4 separate regions of the Homo sapiens genome follow, and all the other regions are linked to region 1. Evidence: promoter capture Hi-C in 16 types of primary human blood cells and fetal thymus (Javierre and others, 2016). All regions are on one chromosome and are shown on one strand. Each heading gives the region's core, a stretch centred on a gene start or on the middle of the fragment in contact. The rest is flanking DNA. Distances are from core to core; before and after follow the strand shown. Region 1 holds the start of TRPM8 (transient receptor potential cation channel subfamily M member 8). Region 2 has its middle 54 kb from the start of ARL4C. Region 3 has its middle 34 kb from the start of ARL4C. Region 4 has its middle 14 kb from the start of ARL4C.

Region 1 (2,682 bases), core at 95-2,594:
TTTGTTGTAGGCATTATCCTGTTTTTCTAATTGCCTCTATCAGCCAAATTTTTTTCAGTTTGAATAGATGGATGAAAACTAGGAAAATAGCAAAAGCCAGTGGAGGCTCCCGAAGTCATTGACCCCAAGGTATCCTGCTCCAAAAAGTAGAAGTGAGAAACAGGAGGTAGATACAGGCAGCAGGTGATGCTCCAAGATGCTATTTGCTGAGACCCTCTTAGAATAAGAGGAAAAGCAGGGGTCCCTATGCAGCCTGGACCCCTACTGTCTTCACAGGTGCCAAGAATGATATCAGTTCTTAGGCAAAACAAAGATAGTGATAATTATTATTATAAATTGTAATGTAATTATAATTTATAATGTAATTATATTATTTCTATAACAATTATATTATTTGTAATATAATTATAAATATCTTATTAATAAATAATAATAAACAGCTTTTTTCCAAATTATAAATAAATATGCATCCAAAGTCACAACCTTGGAAGTAAGTCCTTTGCACTGTCAAGATTTTGACAAGCTAAAACTTCTCTCATGATCAGTATCTTTGTATTAGCACATATAGAATAGTCTTAAGGAATAACCATTTCCTTATGTTCAGCTCAAGAATCCTAACACTGAAAAAGTCAGCACTGGCAATAATGGATTGAAAATTAAATGGAAATAAAACCTTTAATTATTCATCCAGCCCTTCAGTGTTTCTCTCTTGCTTATAAATAATACAAATGATGAGCCTGTTTCAACAGGCTGGAAGAACGGAAGGAAACACAGTATGTAAAAACAAGCTAAATATACCCGCTCCTTTCATTATCAAAGAATATTTACTATTTGAATGCATTATTTCTTGATGTTAATTTACATTTCACCATAGTCTTGATTCAAGAAAAAACTTGTTTTATTATGTTCCCAATAGGATTGCTTCAGATAGTCAGTTGCAGAGTTCAGATGCCAGTGAATTTTTCATTAAAGCTCATTTAGGGAGTTTCTAACTCCTTCAATCAGAAACAGAAAACTGTAATTATATTTAAAGTCATTCAAAAATTCAGCAAATAATTCTACATTTCTAAATAAATCTAAGTGAGGATTAGATATATCTGTGAACCCGCATTTGCTTATGCCCACAACACTTTGAGGAATTTAAATTTTTGTCTTCCTTTAGTTTCAAATCTTCATAGAAAAACTAAATGATGCCCCTCCCAGAGACACAAACTCGTACTATTCTACAAGTTACAGCAATGGCAACATTTAAGGAGAAGCAAAAAGCAAAAGTTGATGACATACCCTAAGTGACGGTTTTTGTCAAGCAGGATTTTCTTTCACCCAAGGATCCTGCTGGTCTCTCCCCACAGGAGGAGGAAAGCTTTTATAACTGGAATCTTCTTAGCCCCGCCTTCTTCTCTGAGGTTCTTTTAAGCAGAGGAACAAAAAACTTAAGCCGCTGAAATTGCAAGAAGACTCCTAAAGCCTCCAAGCATAGCAGCAATTTAGCAGTGGAATACGAGTAGGGAATGGATAATTAGTGAACATGGTATTTTAAATGCTAATAAAGAAATGATACCAAATTCCTGCTCTTAGCTTGACAATAACACCATAGTATGAAATCATACTAATACTTAATTTCTGCAATTAATGGCACATTTTAAAAACCACAAATAAAATGGGAAATGCTCATTATAGAAAGTGATGACAAGATTAATTAATAAATTAAAAGCTCTTAATTAAGATTAGGAAAAAAATTATTAAATAGAGGAAATTTAACCAACATTGCTTTTTTGCAGATTTTGTGAACTTTCCTCATACCAACTAAATGCAGTATTGGGCCAGGCAAGAGGGCATCATGGAGGTGAGCAAATCCAGCTTCATTAATTTACAGCTATTTCCTGTCCCCTTTAAACTACACTTTGGAAGAGCTCTCCTCGAAGAAATAAGTAACAATTGTCAGTGGGCAACTTTCGGTCATTTTACTTAAATCACGTGCCACAAACATAACAGTTATATTATAACTAATGTTCCTCTGTTTTGGCCATTATTTCTATTTTATTTTCATATGAAGCATATGTCATAGAGAAATACAAATAGGATAGTGTATTTCAGGAACTGATTGCACAAGACATACACTTGCAAAAAGGTTAGAGATGAAAGAGAAGGAGTGTGAAGGGGTTTTTTGCAAAGGCAGAGAGATTTGAGCAAGGTCTGAAAGGAAGGATAGGGTTGTAGTGATAACTCCTGCAGAAAGCATGTTCAATTCAAGAAGAAAACCCCCTTAACAAAGAGAGACAAAAGACTCCAGACAGAGGTCTCAAACTCAAATATTCCAAGGCTCAGACAGGTCATAAAGATGAAGGGAGCAGCCAAGTGTTAGGTAGTAAGTAGGGAAGGGTGGGGGCTGTGGAAAACTGGAAATGATAGATTTGAATGAGGACCCGTGAGAGAAGAGATCCAGCTAGAAATAGAGAGAGAGAATCAGAGAAATCTCAGAATTACTCTAAATATGGGTCCTAGGACTAAAAACTCCCATACCCAGCATGGTCCCCAAGCACATATATAGCACTGCACAGGGGAGCAAGTCCATCTGAGGAGCGGAGCAGCAAAATGAGCTTTTTAGCTGTTAGAAATATTGAGCCAGCTGGGTGCAGTGGCTCATGCCTGTAATCCCAGCACTTTGGGAGGCTGAGGCGG
Region 2 (2,682 bases), core at 134-2,633, 630 kb before region 1:
AATTTTCTCTTGTATTTGAAAGAAGAGACATTCAGTTCTTAGTCTTTAATTTTTGGTTTACCAAGTTGTGTTTATCCCTATCGCTTAATTATCAGAGTTAAAAAAAAATGAGTAGGAATTTTGACTATGCCTTATCCATGGAAAGAACTGCCATCCCCTCCTTTATACCCCGATTTTTGTTCATTCGATGCTATAAACCAACAGTGTTGTTATAATTCCATTTTTTCTTATTTGTTATAGAAATATTCTTTTGTAAAAATAAATTGGCTGGGCGCGGTGGCTCAGGCCTGTAATCCCAGCACTTTGGGAAGGCCGAGGCGGGGGAATCACCTGAAGTCAGGAGTTCCAGACCATCCTGGGCAACATGGTGAAACCCTGTCACTACTACAAATACAAAAATTAGCTGGGTGTGGTAGTGCGTGCCTGTAATCCTAGCTTCTTGGGAGGCTGAGGCAGGAGAATCACTTGAACCAGGGAGGCGGAGGTTGCAGTGAGCCGAGATCACACCATTGCACTCCAGCCTGGGCAACAAGAGTGAAACTCCGTCTCAAAAAATTAAATTAAATTAAATAAATAAATTGAGGCCTTTACCATTCATATTAGAAACAGGATATCCGATGATGACTTGTGCTTCTCTGTCAAACTCCACTAGCAGCCCAGTGGATTTCCTCTTGGCCTGTGGATTTTCTCTCTGTTTTTTAGGTTCCTGGTGGTAGGGGCACTCTTGTGAATTTCTCTCTCACTCTCTCCTTCTTTTCTGTTTTCTTTCTGTAATGTCATGGCCACTTTTAATGGGACGTTGTGGATGAGTTCCCAGGAACAGCTAGGATGTCAAAACATGACTTCAGGGGCAGAAGCTTGTTTTCAGTGAGATCATACAATTGTGATCTTCAAAGAGCGTCCTGAGTCCTGGGTGCTTCCTGGGAACACTGTTACAGGCACCATCTTTGGAGTCCGGAAGACTTACTTGCTTTATCAACTCGAACAAGTTACTCTCTGGGCCTCAGTTGCTTCTTCTGCAAAATAGTGACTCACGGAACCCTTGTGAGAAAGGTGTGATTATCCATCAAAAGTGTCTGTAAGGCACGCGCTGGAGGCTAGCAGACAGCAAGGACTTGCAAATGAACTTACCCAGCCTGTGGTCTACCACAAGATCGTTTGACCTGTGTGCATTCTCAATTCTCCCATGAGATCGCTGTAACGTTTATCTGTGGTGGGTGGGGGATGCCGAAGGAAGTTTCTGGACCCAATTTCTTCTTTCTCCCTAACCTTATGATGATGCTGTGGGCTCTGCGCTCCCTCTAGTGGTGAAACTGAACACCTTCGCTATGAGAGCAGCGTCGTTCGGGGCTGAGATGGTTGTGGTCACGATGTGGGTTCCTCTCTTTGTTCTCCTGCCCTGGCTAGGGATGCAGTTGGCACCTTCCACTCTTGGAGAGTCTGAAGAATGCAGAAAAACTTCGGAGAATGTTCTGATCGCGGAATTTGTTAGGACAGAGTCTTACAAGAACTAATTTGAGGATTTTACACATCTGCATGTATCTTTGACCTTAAAACTCTATTAATTTTTCATCGCCCTTTTCCACACTAATTATACTTATCTTTGCAAGGGTATTATACTTCCTTCCAACAGGATTTCTTACTCTCTCAAGTGATTTTGATAATCTTCATAATCCTGTTAAAAATAGCCATAATTCGTTCAAGTATATGAGAGTTGAGTACGAAATTAGTTTGGCTGGTTGACTCACTGCATTTTAAACCCAAGGATATGGGAAGAATGTCTTAATAGAGCCATTTAAATTTTCAAGATGTGAACTTGAACTTACCCTCTGAAGTTGGGGTCTAAGTTAGACAAAGAATTCTGCTTTGTGTGTGCCTGAGCACGTGTGTGTGTCTAATTTAAGCTTTCCAAAACCAGGATCGAATTCCTGTCGGTGTCATTAGGTTGTAGAACTTACGTTAAATGTTCCCTCTTTTTGTCTTAGTGACGTCTGTGATGACAAAATAATTAAGATTGTGTCTCTCTTCATGGAATCAACCTAGATGTCCATCAATGGTGGACTGAATAAGAAAATGTCATACATGTACACCATGGAATACTATGGAGCCATAAAAAAGAGTGAAATTATGTCCTTTGCAGCAACATAGATGTGGCTGCAGGCCATCATTCTAAATGAAGTAATGCAGAAACAAAAAGGCAAATGTCACATCTCACTTACAAGTGGGTGCTAAACCTTGGTACACGCAAATATAAAGATGAGAACAATAGGCACTGGGGACTCCAAAAGGAGAGAAGGAGGGAGAAAGGGAGGGAGTGGGGAGAAAGGGCTGAAGACTTTCTACTGGGTACTACCCTCACTATGTGGGTGATGGAATCAATAGAAGTCCAAACATCAGCATCACATGATATATCCTTGAAACAAACCTGCACGTGTAACCCCTGAATCTAAAATATAAAACAATTTAAAAACTCTGTGTCTTTAAATGTTTTCCACCTGCACCTGAAAGAAGAAGAACCTACGCAACTTTGAATCATACGAAGGAGTAATAGAATCTTAGAGTTGAGCCAGAGATCTCAGAGGTCCTCGTCCACACACCTCCTGATGGAGAGATTCCTTCCATAGCAACCCTGAGAGAGGGCGGACTGACCTCAGCCAAATCCATCAGAATGCTTTTGTTTGC
Region 3 (2,682 bases), core at 122-2,621, 610 kb before region 1:
TCACTGGGTATCTAGTATTGGTCGCTGCATCGAATGGTAGACCTACTTTTAGTTCTTTAAGGACTCTCCATACTGTTTTCCATAGAGGCTGTACTGGTTTACATTTGAAATGCGTTGTTTTCTTGAATAGCCTTGAAATCACAGGTGCTAACACATAAGAGCTAGCAACTGTACGTGAACCCTGGGCTACTAATTGCTCATCAGACTCCTCTAACCCCTTTGGTGTGTGCCAGATATAAAACAATGTGATGTAGGAGTTTGGGTTGAGGCCTGCAGGACTGAAGCCTGTCTGGTTCAGCAGTTCCAGGAGAGGAGGGGAGAGGATCAAGCCAAACCCACTCCTGGAAAAAGCACAGGAGTCCATACGTGCAAGAATGGGAGGGTGCACGGTAAGGGCAGAGGGCTGGTCCTCCCAGTGGGGAGGCACTGCTTATGCCCACGACTTGGCTGGGCATTTTCAAAACATCTTTCTTTCCCCATCCCAGCTCTTCTAGTCTGTAACCCTCTGAGGAAGAAGTCCTAGAAAGTTCCAGTTACTTGAAGAAATGCCCTTGTCCCTCTCTTCAAGGACTCTTTCATATATACCCAGAACCTAAGAGTGGTGCTGGGGTTGCTGCAGGCTTCTGAAACCCGCTGGCCTTGTGCCCAGAATTCCAGGGAACCCTGCAGGCCCATGATGTCCACAAGTGTCAGGGACCCAGAAAACTGTGGAGAAGGCTAAGTTTTGACCCACTTGCCCTCCCCACCCAAGCTGGGCCCCTTGAAGCCCAGATGGACCCAGAGCACTTCCAGTGTTGGAGCTCCAGAATATAGAAAAATGATGAAAATGCCAAAAGAGGATTACAATATTTGTAGTATATTCTAAAATCCTACATGGAACAAATTAATGCTTTTAATGCAAAAAATTATAATTAAATTATTCACATGGTAGTACTGTTGATGAAAAGAGTCAAACTCTGTAAAATGTTTGAAGAGATTTATTTGAGCCAAATATCAGTGATTAATGGCCTGTGACACAGCCCTTGAGAGGTCCTGAGAACATGTGCCCAAGATGGTTGGGCTTCAGCTTGGTTTTATACATTTTAGGAAGACACAAGACATCAATCAATACATTTAAGATGTACCTTGGTTCCGTCCAGAAAGGTGGGACAGCTGGAAGCAGGGGCTTCCAGGTCATTGGTGGATTCAAAGATTTTCTGATTGGCAGTTGGTTGAGTTATTATCTAAAGATCTGGAATCAATAGAAAGAAATGTCTGAGTTATGATAAGTGGTTGTGGAGACCAAGGTTTTCTTATGCAGATAAAGAAGCCTCCAGGTAACAGGCTTCAGAGAGAAGAGATTGCAAATGTTTCTTATCAGACTTAAAGAGTCTATTCTGTCAGTCTTAATTAAGGTCTGTTTTAATGTTAATGCTGGTCAGTTGTGTCTGCATTGCAGAAGGGAGGAGGGAATAATAAGGCATGTCCAACTTTTCCTTCCCATCATGACCTGAACTAGTTTTTCAGGTTAACTTTGGAATGCCTCAGCTGAGAGGAGGGGTCGATTCAGATGGTTGGGGGGCTTATAATTTTATTTTTGGTTTACTGAATAGATTTATTTAAACCCATGAAACATGCTGTTCTTTAGGCAGTGCAATCAACCTGCAAGCTCCATGCATGATGCATAACCCAAACCTCTTGTCTCTGGTTCTGCAGGTCCTTCCTGGCATTAAGGACTAGGGTCTACAGGCGAGACCCTGGAAGGCTCCAGACAGAAGGGTCAGCCCCAGGGAAACCAGCCCATTGGTGATGTCCCTTTCATGATTCTATCCTAGCTGTGATGGCTTAACCTCTGAGTGCTTTGTGTGCCTTTGCTTTATGTAGAGACACACACATAGGAATAGATTTCCTAAATTTAAGGTCAATGCCCTTTGAGGCGTGGAAGTGACAGTACCTTCCTTCATGGCCACTCTGTCCACACACACAGAGTGCAGCCTCCAGAGTTGCTGCTTGCAGCTCTAGGTTCCAAGATCCTTCCCTGCAGGCCCTAGAGAGGGGTCAGTTCTTGAACAGACAGCCCCTGAGGAATCATTCTAATCAGGCCGTTGGAAAAGTCTGCAACAGTTTGGCAGGCTGCCCTCTTTGCCCAGAACCATTTGTATGACCAGTGACACATGAGGAGAGGATGATACTTGCTACAGCATCTCTTTGTCCATTTCAAAGTCACCATTTGTTGTGGTTATTTCAGGGCCTATTGTATTGGTCACATTGCTCATGAAGTTCAAGAGGATGATCTGCTTCCTAATCCAGTTCCCCCTCTCACCTGTGGCCCTTCCCTCTGCACTCTGTCCTCCTGCTGCAGAGGACATTTAACATTTTTTGGAAATCTGGCTGCTGACTCTCTTCCTTTGGGGAATTCCCACAGCAGGAGGTCTGGTGGGAGATAGCACCAACCTCTTATTGCAGAACCCCACATATCTGGATGCTGGCTCTGCTCACACTCTGGCACTTTGGCAGGGTGACCTGGGCTTGGTCAACTAGATATCCAGTCCCAGGCTTCCCTGCAAATGAGCAAAGGTGCCCCTTCCTCTGGACAGAGGCAGCCTGTGCCGGGGCATAGGGCTTGGAAACTGGAATTCAGGCACCAGAAACAAATGGCACTAAAATCCAGGAGGCGGCAATAGAATCCAGTCTGGTTGGTGG
Region 4 (2,682 bases), core at 54-2,553, 590 kb before region 1:
TTTTGTGGGTTCCATCTTTGTCCCCTACCTAGGTTTTATATTTTGGAAATATTCTTCTCTACCATCATTTAGGCAACTTGGAGTTGATTTTGTGCATTACCATAAACTGTGATGTTCTAGTTAACAACTAACTTCCAATTTTGTAATGTTCACATTCAAATTACATTACAATTAGTCATTCTATAGCACCCTTAAATTGAAGTTATTATTATAGGTATTGTGGGTTAAAGTTATTATTAACTTTATTATTTATTGAAGTTATTATTACAGGTATTGTAGGTAGAAAGTGGGGACTTCTGATGGGCCAGGATTTTCTCCAAACTCCCCTTACCACACCCACCTTAAAGGCCAAGGTCCCATAGTGTCCAGCCATACCTGGCTGAATCCTTCACCTCAGCCAGACATCCTTGATGCTGTCTGGGGGGAGAGGACATGGAAAGTTACTGAGTGGTCTCCTTGGCCCAAGAGGCAGCAGGGCTCCCACCACCTATGGGCCCAGATGAGACCATCAAGCTCATTCCCAACCAAATGCAGAGAAATGGGCTTATTCTCTCCTAAAGCTGGAGGCTGTGTCCTTAGATATTCTATCAAAAGGCGTGTGGCAGGGCTTCACCAGCCTCCCACTTCTCTGCTGGGTTCTGGCTGTGAGAATGAGTCAATGGTAGTGAAGGAGGTAAGAAGAGGAATGGGGGAGGAAGAGTGACTCAGTAGGGGCAATGGTGAGATTAGTTGGAATGGTCTAGGGGTGTCCATGGGACAACCCAGTGGAAACTGAACAGGGATTTGGACATAGTTCAAGGCACAGTAGAAGCAAATATCTGGGAAGAAGAATCCACTGGAAACTCAACAACAACACCAAAAACAACCAAGTTTAAAAAGGGACAAGGGACTTGAATAGAGATTTCTCCAAAGAAAACATCCAAATGGCCAATGAGTGCATGAAGAGATGTTCAACATCACTGACCACTAGTGAAATGCAAATCAAAACCACAACGAGACACCATCTCACACTCATCAGGATGGCTAGAATTAAAAAAAAAAAAAAAAAAAGGACAGGCCAGGTGTGGTGGCTCATGCCTGTAACCCCAGCACTTTGGGAGGCCGAGATTGGTGGATCACAAGGTCAGGAGATTGAGACCATCCTGGCTAACACAGTGAAACCCCGTCTCTACTAAAAATACAAAAAATTAGCCGGGCATGGTAGCGGGTGCCTGTAGTCCCAGCTACTCAGGAGGCTGAGGCAGGAGAATGATGTGAACCCGGGAGGCAGAGCTTGCAGTGAGCCAAGATTGCGCCACTGCACTCCAGCCTGGGTGACAGTGAGACTCCGTCTCAAAAAAAAAAAAAAAAAAAGAACATAACAAATACTGGTGATCATGCAGAGAAATTGGAAATTTGTGCACTTCTGGTGGGATTGTAATGGTGCAGCTGGTATGGAAAACAGCATGGCAGTTCCTACAAAACTTAAACACAAAAATACAACATGACTGAGCAATCTCATTTCCAGATATATACCCAAAAGAATTGGAAGCAGGGTTTTGAAGGGATATCTGTACACTCATGTTCATAGCAACATTATTCACAATTGCCAAAAGGTGAAAGCAACTCAAGTATCTGTTGACAGATGAATGAGTAAACAAAATGTGGCACATATGTAAAACGGGAAATTATTTAGCTTTAAAAAGGGAAGATATTCTGACACATGCTACAACATGGATGAGATTTGAGGACATTATGCGAAGTGGAATAAGCCAGTCGAAAAAAGACAAACACTGTATGATTCCATTTATATGAGGTACTTAGTGTAGTCAAAATCATAAAGACAGAAAGTAGAATGGTGATTTCCAGGGGCTGAGAGGAGGGGGAAATAATGAAACATTATTATTAATGGGTAGTTTCAGTTTTACAAGATGAAAAGAGTTATGAGGGTGAATGGTGGTGATGTTTGCTCAATATTCTGAATATATTTAATACCACTGAACTGTACATTTAAAACTGGTTAAGATGGTAAATTTTATGTTATGTGTATTTTCTCACAACAAAAACCTCCTCCTTGTGGAGGAGGAGAAGAATTCACTGGAGCAAAAAAACTGTCCCTTGAAGGCAGGTGTGGTGTGGAACAAGAGCCAAGCAGAGGGCTCAGAAAACACTCACAGTTCAGGGTTAAATGGAAGAAAAGGACTTTGTGAGAGAACCTCAAAATATACAAGAGAGCTAGGAGCAAGGACTACAATGAAAGCCAAAGAAAGGCAAGTCAGAGAGAGTTTTGTGAAAAAAGAATGTGGTTAACAGCACCAGATGCAACTGAGGCAATAAGTATGATTAGGACTAAAATAGGTCCAGTTTGTGCAGCAATTAGGAGGTGACCTTTGCCAGCACAGGTTCAGAGAGTGGGGAAGGGCATGACAGATATGAGCAGACAGAAAGTTGCATTGTGAGAGAAGCAGAGACCCTCTGAGAAGGGAAGGAGTAAAACTGTAGGACAATAGCTAGAGGGCCACACAAATCTAAAAGAGACAGCGAAAGAGAGAGGGAGACAGAGAGAGACAGGGAGAGAGAGATGAGGAGAGAGAGAGTTGAGACAGCTGAGACTTGAATAGGGGCTATATTTTAAGAGGATTTATAAATCTTTGTGCTTTTGTGGCCAAGAGCATCCCCTACACACAGTGGAAGCTCAATCAA

Evidence for each region. Contacts are between HindIII fragments. The CHiCAGO score rates a contact against its expected background, and 5 or more counts as called.
Region 2: a fragment that was not itself captured here is called in contact with the fragment with the promoter of TRPM8 in region 1 in 5 of 17 cell types (total CD8 T cells, activated CD4 T cells, non-activated CD4 T cells and 2 more); the score reaches 8.1 in total CD8 T cells.
Region 3: a contact is called between a fragment that was not itself captured here and the fragment with the promoter of TRPM8 in region 1, in 6 of 17 cell types (total CD4 T cells, total CD8 T cells, non-activated CD4 T cells and 3 more). The highest score is 11.6, in total CD4 T cells.
Region 4: a contact is called between a fragment that was not itself captured here and the fragment with the promoter of TRPM8 in region 1, in 7 of 17 cell types (activated CD4 T cells, naive CD4 T cells, non-activated CD4 T cells and 4 more). The highest score is 7.5, in activated CD4 T cells.

Annotation. Positions count from the first base shown.
Region 1 is chr2:233,916,035-233,918,716 of GRCh38, reverse strand. It overlaps TRPM8 (transient receptor potential cation channel subfamily M member 8), which reads right to left and starts at 1,344. Exons shown (of 26, transcript NM_024080.5): 1 at 1,285-1,344. The HindIII fragment of the contact is 1,520 bases long and covers 1-1,365 here.
Region 2 is chr2:234,549,335-234,552,016 of GRCh38, reverse strand. No RefSeq gene overlaps it. Among named protein-coding and RNA genes, the nearest start is that of ARL4C, 54 kb to the right of the region's middle. The HindIII fragment of the contact is 1,047 bases long and covers 860-1,906 here.
Region 3 is chr2:234,529,413-234,532,094 of GRCh38, reverse strand. No RefSeq gene overlaps it. Among named protein-coding and RNA genes, the nearest start is that of ARL4C, 34 kb to the right of the region's middle. The HindIII fragment of the contact is 6,369 bases long and covers 1-2,682 here.
Region 4 is chr2:234,509,588-234,512,269 of GRCh38, reverse strand. No RefSeq gene overlaps it. Among named protein-coding and RNA genes, the nearest start is that of ARL4C, 14 kb to the right of the region's middle. The HindIII fragment of the contact is 3,740 bases long and covers 1-2,682 here.